Linked DNA regions of Homo sapiens: region 1 is linked to region 2. The links are contacts of gene promoters, found by promoter capture Hi-C in blood cells and fetal thymus (Javierre and others, 2016). All regions are on one chromosome and are shown on one strand. Each heading gives the region's core, a stretch centred on a gene start or on the middle of the fragment in contact. The rest is flanking DNA. Distances are from core to core; before and after follow the strand shown. Region 1 holds the start of CSF3 (colony stimulating factor 3). Region 2 holds the start of CDC6 (cell division cycle 6).

What was found. The method cuts DNA at HindIII sites, captures the fragments that hold promoters and counts their contacts. A CHiCAGO score of 5 or more calls a contact.
Region 1: the fragment with the promoter of CSF3 here is called in contact with the fragment with the promoter of CDC6 in region 2 in 1 of 17 cell types (M0 macrophages); the score reaches 5.2 in M0 macrophages.

What each region holds. Positions count from the first base shown.
Region 1 is chr17:40,014,081-40,018,292 of GRCh38, reverse strand. CSF3 (colony stimulating factor 3) reads right to left here and starts at 2,853. Exons shown (of 5, transcript NM_172219.3): 1 at 2,779-2,853; 2 at 2,448-2,602; 3 at 1,953-2,060; 4 at 1,662-1,808; 5 at 480-1,498. The coding sequence starts at 2,818. The coding sequence ends at 1,334. It overlaps PSMD3-AS1 (PSMD3 antisense RNA 1), which reads left to right and starts at 3,652. Exons shown (of 3, transcript NR_198981.1): 1 at 3,652-3,739; 2 at 3,934-4,055. RefSeq lists an enhancer at 2,444-2,943. The HindIII fragment of the contact is 16,036 bases long and covers 1-4,212 here.
Region 2 is chr17:40,286,581-40,290,822 of GRCh38, reverse strand. It overlaps CDC6 (cell division cycle 6), which reads right to left and starts at 2,944. Exons shown (of 12, transcript NM_001254.4): 1 at 2,733-2,944; 2 at 1,225-1,415. The coding sequence starts at 1,402. RefSeq lists enhancers at 2,329-2,398, 2,429-2,608, 2,377-3,184. The HindIII fragment of the contact is 8,752 bases long and covers 1-4,242 here.

The sequences.
Region 1 (4,212 bases), core at 1,604-4,103, 270 kb after region 2:
TGGTCACCTTGAACTTGGCTTCCACTTTGTGGGCAACTTGATGGATGGGCTCAAGTTTATGGAAGATGGTAAATGACAAGCCTGGTGCAGATGCTCAGCACTCCCTGGCTTCATCTTGTCTGGCTGTGTCTGGCCTGTTAAGCCCACCCAGACCCCATGCCCTCTCCTTTCCGGGTTCCCATGGTCCCTGTGCCTCTGTCTTCCCTGCCAGGCTTTGGCTGCTCGAGTGCAGATTCCATGTCTGCCTTGTTCCCTGCTGTGTCCCCAGCACTTAGCCCAGCGTCTGCACAGAGTAGGTGCTCAGATAAATATGTGCTAACGGAATGAATGTCAGACGAACTTGAGAACTTTCCTCCTCCTCCCTGGACCTCCTCCCCAGACCTCCTCCCCGACCTCCCTCTGGCCTCTCCCACCCTTCAGCCACCTCCCCAGCCCCTGGCCAGGCACCAGCTGGACTCAAGAAGGAGGAAGGACGTGACTGGAGGCAAACACTTTATTATCCTGAAGTTCAGTTACAATGTGACAGTGGAGGGGACACTGGTGAGTGGGGGGTGAAGAGGTGGAGGGTGACAGTGGAGCTTCCTTTCACACACAGGCCTGACATGATTCCTCCTGTCTGCTCCCTCCCACATCCCCAGTCCCCGTCCAGCAAGGCAAATGTCCAGGCACCTGCCTGGCCCTAAAAAGAGTCACAGTCCTGACCCTCGTGGGGGCAGGGCAGGTGTCCCGAGGCCACCCAGAAAAACAGGAGACGCGTCGGTGATGTTCGGGAGTCAAACCATGTCCCAAAAGTCTTAAGAAGAAAAACGAGATTCCCCAGCAAATTCGTGGGACCCCAGGGCCATGCCTCCCAGCTCTGGCCACCTCTGCTTGTCCAGGGGCCTCACAGCCAAGGGGATGCAGGGGCCGCTGTGCAGTCGGCTGAGGCCAGAGTGAGGGGTGCAAGGACCCAGATGGGGAACACTGCTGTTTAAATATTAAACAGGGATTTCTTGTCTCCCACGTGGGAGACCTGATACTCTCAAGGGTCCCAGGTGGGGACCCTCAGGACCAGGGGCTCACAGCGGCTCATCCCAGTGCCCATTGCAGAGCCAGGGCTGGGGAGCAGTCATAGTAATAAATACTTGGTATTTACCTATCTACCTCCCAGTCCAGGGGATGGGAGGACAGGAGCTTTTTCTCACTGCTACAGGCAGGAGAATGAAACTCAGAAATGCAGGGAAGGACACAGAGGCCTGGGGCTCCGTTCTGCTCTTCCCTGTCTTTAAATATGAGGCTTAAATAGACATAAATATTAAATAGAGATAAATACATGGGATGGGGAGGGCTTGGCTCAGGGCTGGGCAAGGTGGCGTAGAACGCGGTACGACACCTCCAGGAAGCTCTGCAGATGGGAGGCAACCAGGACCCCTCCTGCCCGGCGCTGGAAAGCAGAGGCGAAGGCCGGCATGGCACCCTGGGTGGGCTGCAGGGCAGGGGCCATTCCCAGTTCTTCCATCTGTGGGGGAAAGCTGTGATCAGTGGTTGGGCCCTTCTGAGTGGGCGTTATTACAAATGAGGAAATGCTGGGGGTGACAGCATGGACAGGGCCCATACACAGGCCTGGCTGTGGTGCCCAGAATGCCAGCACGACCTTGGCCACCCTGCCCAACAAGGCTCACCTGCTGCCAGATGGTGGTGGCAAAGTCGGCGACGTCCAGCTGCAGTGTGTCCAAGGTGGGACCCAACTCGGGGGAGATCCCTTCCAGGGCCTGCAGGAGCCCCTGGTAGAGGAAAAGGCCGCTATGGAGTTGGCTCAAGCAGCCTGCCTGTGAGACAGAGCGGAAGAGTTAGGGGGTGCTGCCTGAGATACGTCAGGCCCCCAGCTTGGAACCTGGAGACATGGGGGAGCCCATGGGTGTTCCTCCTCTCCTTCCCCCTCCTCATTAGCCTTATCCTTTCCTGACACTCACCAGCTGCAGGGCCTGGCTGGGGCAGCTGCTCAGGGGAGCCCAGGGGATGCCCAGAGAGTGTCCGAGCAGCACCAGCTCCTCGGGGTGGCACAGCTTGTAGGTGGCACACTGGGGATGGAAGGATGCTGAGTGAGACTCGCCATGGCCGGGTCGCCGCTCCTTCCCGGGTCCTCCCCGACTCTCTGGTCTTTCCCCTCCCTCCATGTCCTGCCAGGCTGTTCAGTTCCTCTCTGCCCTGCACCCCCACTCTCTGATCTCACAGGGGCCCTTGCCCTTTCTCCTGAATGTAATGCCTCCACTCCCATCCCAGCCAGCCCTCCCGAGCACTGTCCCCACCAAGGTCCTCCTCCCCAAGTCCCTTCCCAGCCTTCCCCAGCTCCACTGCTCCTAATATTCTCCCACGTCCCTTCCAGAGGATGTTGGCCCTGCAGTTCCATCCCCCTTAGCTCTCCCCACCGGGCTTCCCTCCACAGCCCTCTCACCCACCTCACTCACCAGCTTCTCCTGGAGCGCTGCGCCATCGCCCTGGATCTTCCTCACTTGCTCTAAGCACTTGAGCAGGAAGCTCTGGGGCAGGGAGCTGGCAGGGCCCAGGGGGGTGGCTTCCTGCACTGTCCAGAGTGCACTGTGCCACAGCAGCAGCTGCAGGGCTGGGGACAGAGCGGGCTCAGGAGACATGCTGTTCCCTACCACCTGAGGCCCTCTCGGGGACACTGGGTGCCTTTAATCCCCATTCCCAGAACGGGGATCCCCAGCCCCTCTGTCACACCAGCCTCCCTCCCATGCCAGGGCAGGCGGCTCTCCCATCCTGGGCCAAGACACTCACCCATCAGCTTCATGGGGCTCTGGGTGGCAGGTCCAGCCATGGGTCTGGGTGGGGCTGGGCTGCAGGCTCCGGGCTGTTTTGGGGCCCAGCTCTAGGGGGGCCTTTATACATAACCCCATGGAGGCCTGGGAGGAAATTACCTGGGGCCACGACTAAGGCTTAGTAATAACTTCCCAGGATTTATGCAAATTTGGTGTCCAAGACAATGCAGGGGGGTTGGAACAAAAAGCTGTTTGCGAAAGTTTTGTGAAATTGTGGAATCTCTGATCCTCCTTTGACGTCGCCTTGCCCCCCTCAAACTCCCTTCCTCCCGCTGCCCCACCCAGGCCTGAATGGCCCCAGAGTGTTTGAACAGAACAGCTGAACAAAGGCTGAGCCGCTGATAGACGCCTGGAAGCGGCAGCAGCCTGTGGGGAAGTGGCAGCTGAGTCGGGGTCTCCCTCTCTGCTCTGGCAGACTTGCGGGGGCAGTGTCCTTTGCCCCTCTCCTTTGGGATTCTCAAGCCTGTCCCCCAAGCCCCCAAATTCTAAGAGAGAAAAAAAGAAGCTGGTTGCTCCCATTCCTACCCCCAAACTCTCCGGAGGCTGCCTGTCTGGGAGACCTCCTGAGCCCCTACCTGAGATAAGGACATTGGGTCTTGGCTGCTGTGCCCACCCCACACTTGGATAGGCACCATCGAAAGTTCCAGGCTGTCCTGTCCCAAGTTGATTAGCTGGGAACTCCCCCAGAAACCCCCCCGCCCCCCATGACTCATTCGGCTAAAGCCCCTAGAATCCCGGTAGAGCCAGAGGAAACCGGATGTCTGTCCCGAATGAGGCAAGACCCTTCGAGGCGATTGGCTCACCTGACCTTCACCTCCTCGTGCACGACCCTGACAGTAGGGTCCCCAAGGGCTTTGGAACTGCGGGATTGGGACACGTGACTTCCCTGGTCATTCACCTTGAAGTGGACACGGGCTGGGGTGAGAGAGGGGAAACTGCCCCATCTTCTCATCTTAGAACCATGCAGCGTTAATGCTGGAAGGGACCTTGGAGTCGATTCCAACCCCGTGAACTGGGCCAGGGAAGGAAGTGCCTTGCCCAAGGTCATGGTAAGTGACAGAATTACAGCCTGGGCCTCTGGCTCAGACCTGAACGTTTTCTTTTTCTTTTCCAGATGGAGTCTTGCTCTGTCGCCCAGGCTGGAGTGCAGTGGCGCGATCTCGGCTCACTGCAAACTCTGCCTCTCGGGTTCACGCCATTCTCCTGCCTCAGCCTCCCGAGTAGCTGGAACTACAGGTGCCCGCCACCATGCCCGGCCAATTTTTTGTATTTTTAGTAGAGACGGGGTTTCACCGTGTTAGCCAGGATGGTCACGATCTCCTGACCTCGTGATCCACCCGCCTCGGCCTCCCAAAGTGCTGGGATTACAGGCGTGAGCCACCGTGCCCGGCCT
Region 2 (4,242 bases), core at 1,695-4,194:
AAATTCCAGAAATAAACAATTGACAAGTTTTAAATTGCATGCTGTGGAGTGCCATGATGAAATCCCGCACCATCCTACCCAAGACATGAATCATCCCTTCAGCCAGCATATCCACACTGTATATGCTATCCACCCACTAGTCACTTAGTAGCTGACTTGGTTATCAAATCAAAAACACAGTATATGTAGGGTTTGGTACTGTCCTCGATTGCAGGCGTCCACTGGGGGTCTTGGAATGTATCCCCCATGGATAAGTGGGGACTACTGCATTTAGTAGAAACCAAATGGGTTTTAGTAGGATGAAATTGTAAGGCTATTTTGAAACAGGTTTTCTCAACCTTGGCACCACTGACATCTTGGACCAAATAATTCTTCATTGTCAAGGAGCTGTCCTGTGCATTGTAATGTCTAGCAGCATCCCTGGCCTCTACCCACTATGCCAGTAGCAACCCCCAGCTGTAACAACCAAAAATGTCTCCAGAAACAACCAAATTACCCCCCATTTAAAAATAAATGTTCCAAAACAAGAAAGAATTACCAATCACTGTCCTAAAGGATGGAAAATATTCATCATGTCACGTTTTTGTTTCTTTTAATTTCACAAATATTGAGGTAAGTTTCATAATACCATGTAACTACAAGGTAACTTAAAACATTGACAGAACTAAGTTCAGTATTAAGGAATTGAAGATCAGACTTATTAAGTAGTTCAGAGTGACCTCAGTAAGTGTCTAACTCTGGAGTTCGGTAAGCACTTAGCAACCATTCTGAAAATAACTAAAATGAAGAGTAGTCTTAGGCCAGGAGCGGTAGCTCATGCCTATAATCCCAGCACTTTGGGAGGCCGAGGCAGTTGGATCACCTGAGGTCAGGAGTTCAGAGACCAGATTGGCCAATATGGCAAAACCCTGTCTCAACTAAAAATCCAAAAAAAAAAAAAAAAAAAATTAGCCAGGCTTGGTGGTGGGCGCCTGTAATCCCAGCTACTTGGGAGGCTGAGGCAGGAGAATCGCTTGAACCCAGGAGGCGGAGGTTGCAGTGAGCCAAGATCGCACTATTGCACTCCAGCCTGGGAGATGGAGCGAGACTCTGTCTCAAAAAAAAAAAAAAAAAAAAAAAGAAGTCTTAACTGAACTTAGAAAGCTCCTTCAAAGGACACACATCTTACCAAGAAAAGAAAGGTCACGAGCTGCTAGTGAAAAAGTGATATAATGGATGGTTTACCCAGACGTTTCCTGGGGCTGAGAGGCAGGGCTTTTACACGAGGAGAACAGGTTACGGTTTGGACATTTGTTGGTTCTAGTTTGGCATCACTGGAGTTTTTAGCTTTGTTCAATGCCCGAGACAGCTTCCTTTTTGGAAAACTGATTGTAGCCTGTGCCTGGGATCGGGTTTGAGGCATGACGACAGCACAGCTAGATTAAAAAAAATAAGAGGACAACTAGTCAATATGTGAAAGTGAAGAGAAAATAACTAACATGGAATTTATTTATACTGATGATTAACACTTATTTCCTAATTATGTTATCACACTTATTTTAGCATTCACTTTTGCTTCACATCCAAATCTATGCAAGAACAGCTGACATTTGTTGTCTACCTACTACGTGGAAGGGCGCTGTTATAAACACTTTAGGTACCAACTCGTTTAACAACGATCTTAGGAGTAGGTACTATTATTAGCCTTTATTTTACACATGAGAAAACTGAGATAAACAGTGGCCCAAAGTCACAGAAAAACAGGAATGTAACCCCGGGCATCTGGTGCCAGAGCCCAAGTTCTTAACCAATTGAGCGATGCAATAACAAGTTACCTGAAATGGGCCGGGCGCGGTGGCCCACGCCTGTAATCCCAGCACTTTGGGAGGCTGAGGCGGGCGGATCACCTGAGGTCAGGAGTTCGAGACCAGCCTGACCAACATGGAGAAACCCCGTCTCTACTAAAAATACAAAAATTACGGCCAAACGCGGTGGCTCACGCCTGTAATCCCAACACTTTGGGAGGCCGAGACGGGCCGAGACCATCCTGGCTAACACGGTGAAACCCCGTCTCTACTAAAAATGCAAAAAATTAGCCGGGCGTGGTGGTGGGCGCCTGTAGTCCCAGCTACTCGGGAGGCTGAGGCAGGAGAATGGCATGAACCCGGGAGGCGGAGCTTGCAGTGAGCCGAGATCGCGCCACTGCACTCCAGCCTGGGAGACCGAGCGAGACTCCGTCTCAAAAAAAAAAAAAAAATTAGCCGGACGTGGTGGCGGGCGCCTGTAGTCCCAGCTACATGAAGAGGCTGAGGCAGGAGAATGGCTTGAACCCGGCAGGCAGAGGTTGCAGTGAGCCGAGATCGCACCACTGCACTACAGCCTGGGCGACAAGAGCGAGACTCCGTCTCAAAAAAAAAAAAAAGTTACATGAATTGATTTATATAGAACTTCTAGTTTCCTCCCTCCAGGCACGCGGGGTGTCTTTATCACCAGTTCAGCCCAGCACCCGCCACATTTAGTCTCTTCTATCCCAAGCCCTCACACTGCAGCTCAGTCTTCCCTCAGTTCTTTCCGCCCCTGCACTCAGTCCTCATTCTAGGCAGCTCTCAACGCACCCCAGAATATTTCCTTCCTACAACTTTCACCTCCTTCACACCACGCATAACTGCTAGAACTACCCCGAGGGCACCTGCCCTTTCCCTGATCCCGACCTCAGACCTCCAGCGAGCTCAGCTCTTTTCCCTTCACTTCACCTCAGGCCTCGCCGGAACCCGCAGCCTTCACCCAGCTCCGCTGCCTCACAGACCCCAGGCCTCCTCGAGCAATCCTCTTCTTTCCACCTCCTCAGTGCAGGATCCTTCTCACGTCTCTCACACGCAGCCTCTCGGACTCACCACCACAAGCCCCTGAACAAACTGCACAGCGGCAGCAGCAAACTCCAGCCGCGCTCGCGCCAAATCCGAATGGCCACAGCGTTCCCACCTCCCGCCAAAGCCCGGCCTCGATTCTGATTGGCTGTAGTCACAGAGCCTTTCGCCTTGGGCACCGCCTCTTTTTTTGCTACCAATCCAGTGGAAGAGTTACAGCCAATGAGAGAGCCCCAAGTCTTAGAGTCGCTGTGAGGCCACGACCACTGAACGGGGGAGGGAATCTACATCCGGGGCCTCGGTGGAAAGACGCGCGATTGCGGCAGGGCGACTCTGGGTAAAGCGGGCCGGCCCGCCGCAAAGCACGCTGGGAGGCGTAGTCTTTGCTGCCGCGCAGTCGCACTCTTCCTTCGACTGGAAGTGTCAAGATGTGGTTCCCCTTCTCACTGCCTAAAGTACCCATTTGCATCATCCTGATGGGCTAGATTTTCAGAACTGCTACATGATACCTACCGTTTTGGGTTCTGTGCGCCAGGTATGATGCTAGGCACTTTCCTTACCTCTCTAATGCTCAACCTCGCAAAGTACAAAGCAAACTTCTATACAAGGTTAGAGGTCACAGCATCTTGGTGACAGTGAAGAGCCTAGGATCCAGATCTCCTGATGGCTGAACTAGTGATTTTTATGGTAAAGTTCTACACACCTATATAAAGAAAAACTATGCTTCATCATAGTATCTCTTGATTTGTGCTTCAAAGGTGAGAAACAGAGCCAACTCTTTACTTTTATTTCGTTCAACCTAAGAATATTATGTTCTGTGCATCTTCTTACCATTAATCCACACATCATGGGGAGGGAATTATGACCCCTTAATTTTAAAATCTTTTATGGCGAAACACTAGGGTTTCAGGGCCAGGGAAGACAGCTATATAGAAGAGGCAAGCTGAGTTTTTAATGAAAAATATAAATTAGCGCAGTAATTTGAAGGCCAGCTTCCAAAGCCAATAATTCATCTAAGCCTCAGGTTCCTTTAGAGGCCAGAACCCAATTCTAGGTGATGGTAAACATTTATCTTTTACCCCTCAGTAACAAACAAAATAGAGCCATAAAGCCTAGAAAGAGGGAAGCAACAATATTACGATCATCAGTGAATTGGTACCTAGTTCATGAAGAGAGCCAATATTGAGTGCTTAAGTGTATGCCAGGGGCTGTGCTCAGTATTTTACCTACATCACCTTATTAATCTTCACAAGCACCCCCATGAACCTGGTGTTATTTCACTTTACAAATGAGGGAACTACAGTAGAGGGGAGTTGAGTAAACTTGCCCAAGGTCACACAACTAGTAAGTGGAAGAGCTAGAATTTGAACTCTGAACTCTGACAGAAAATCAAACT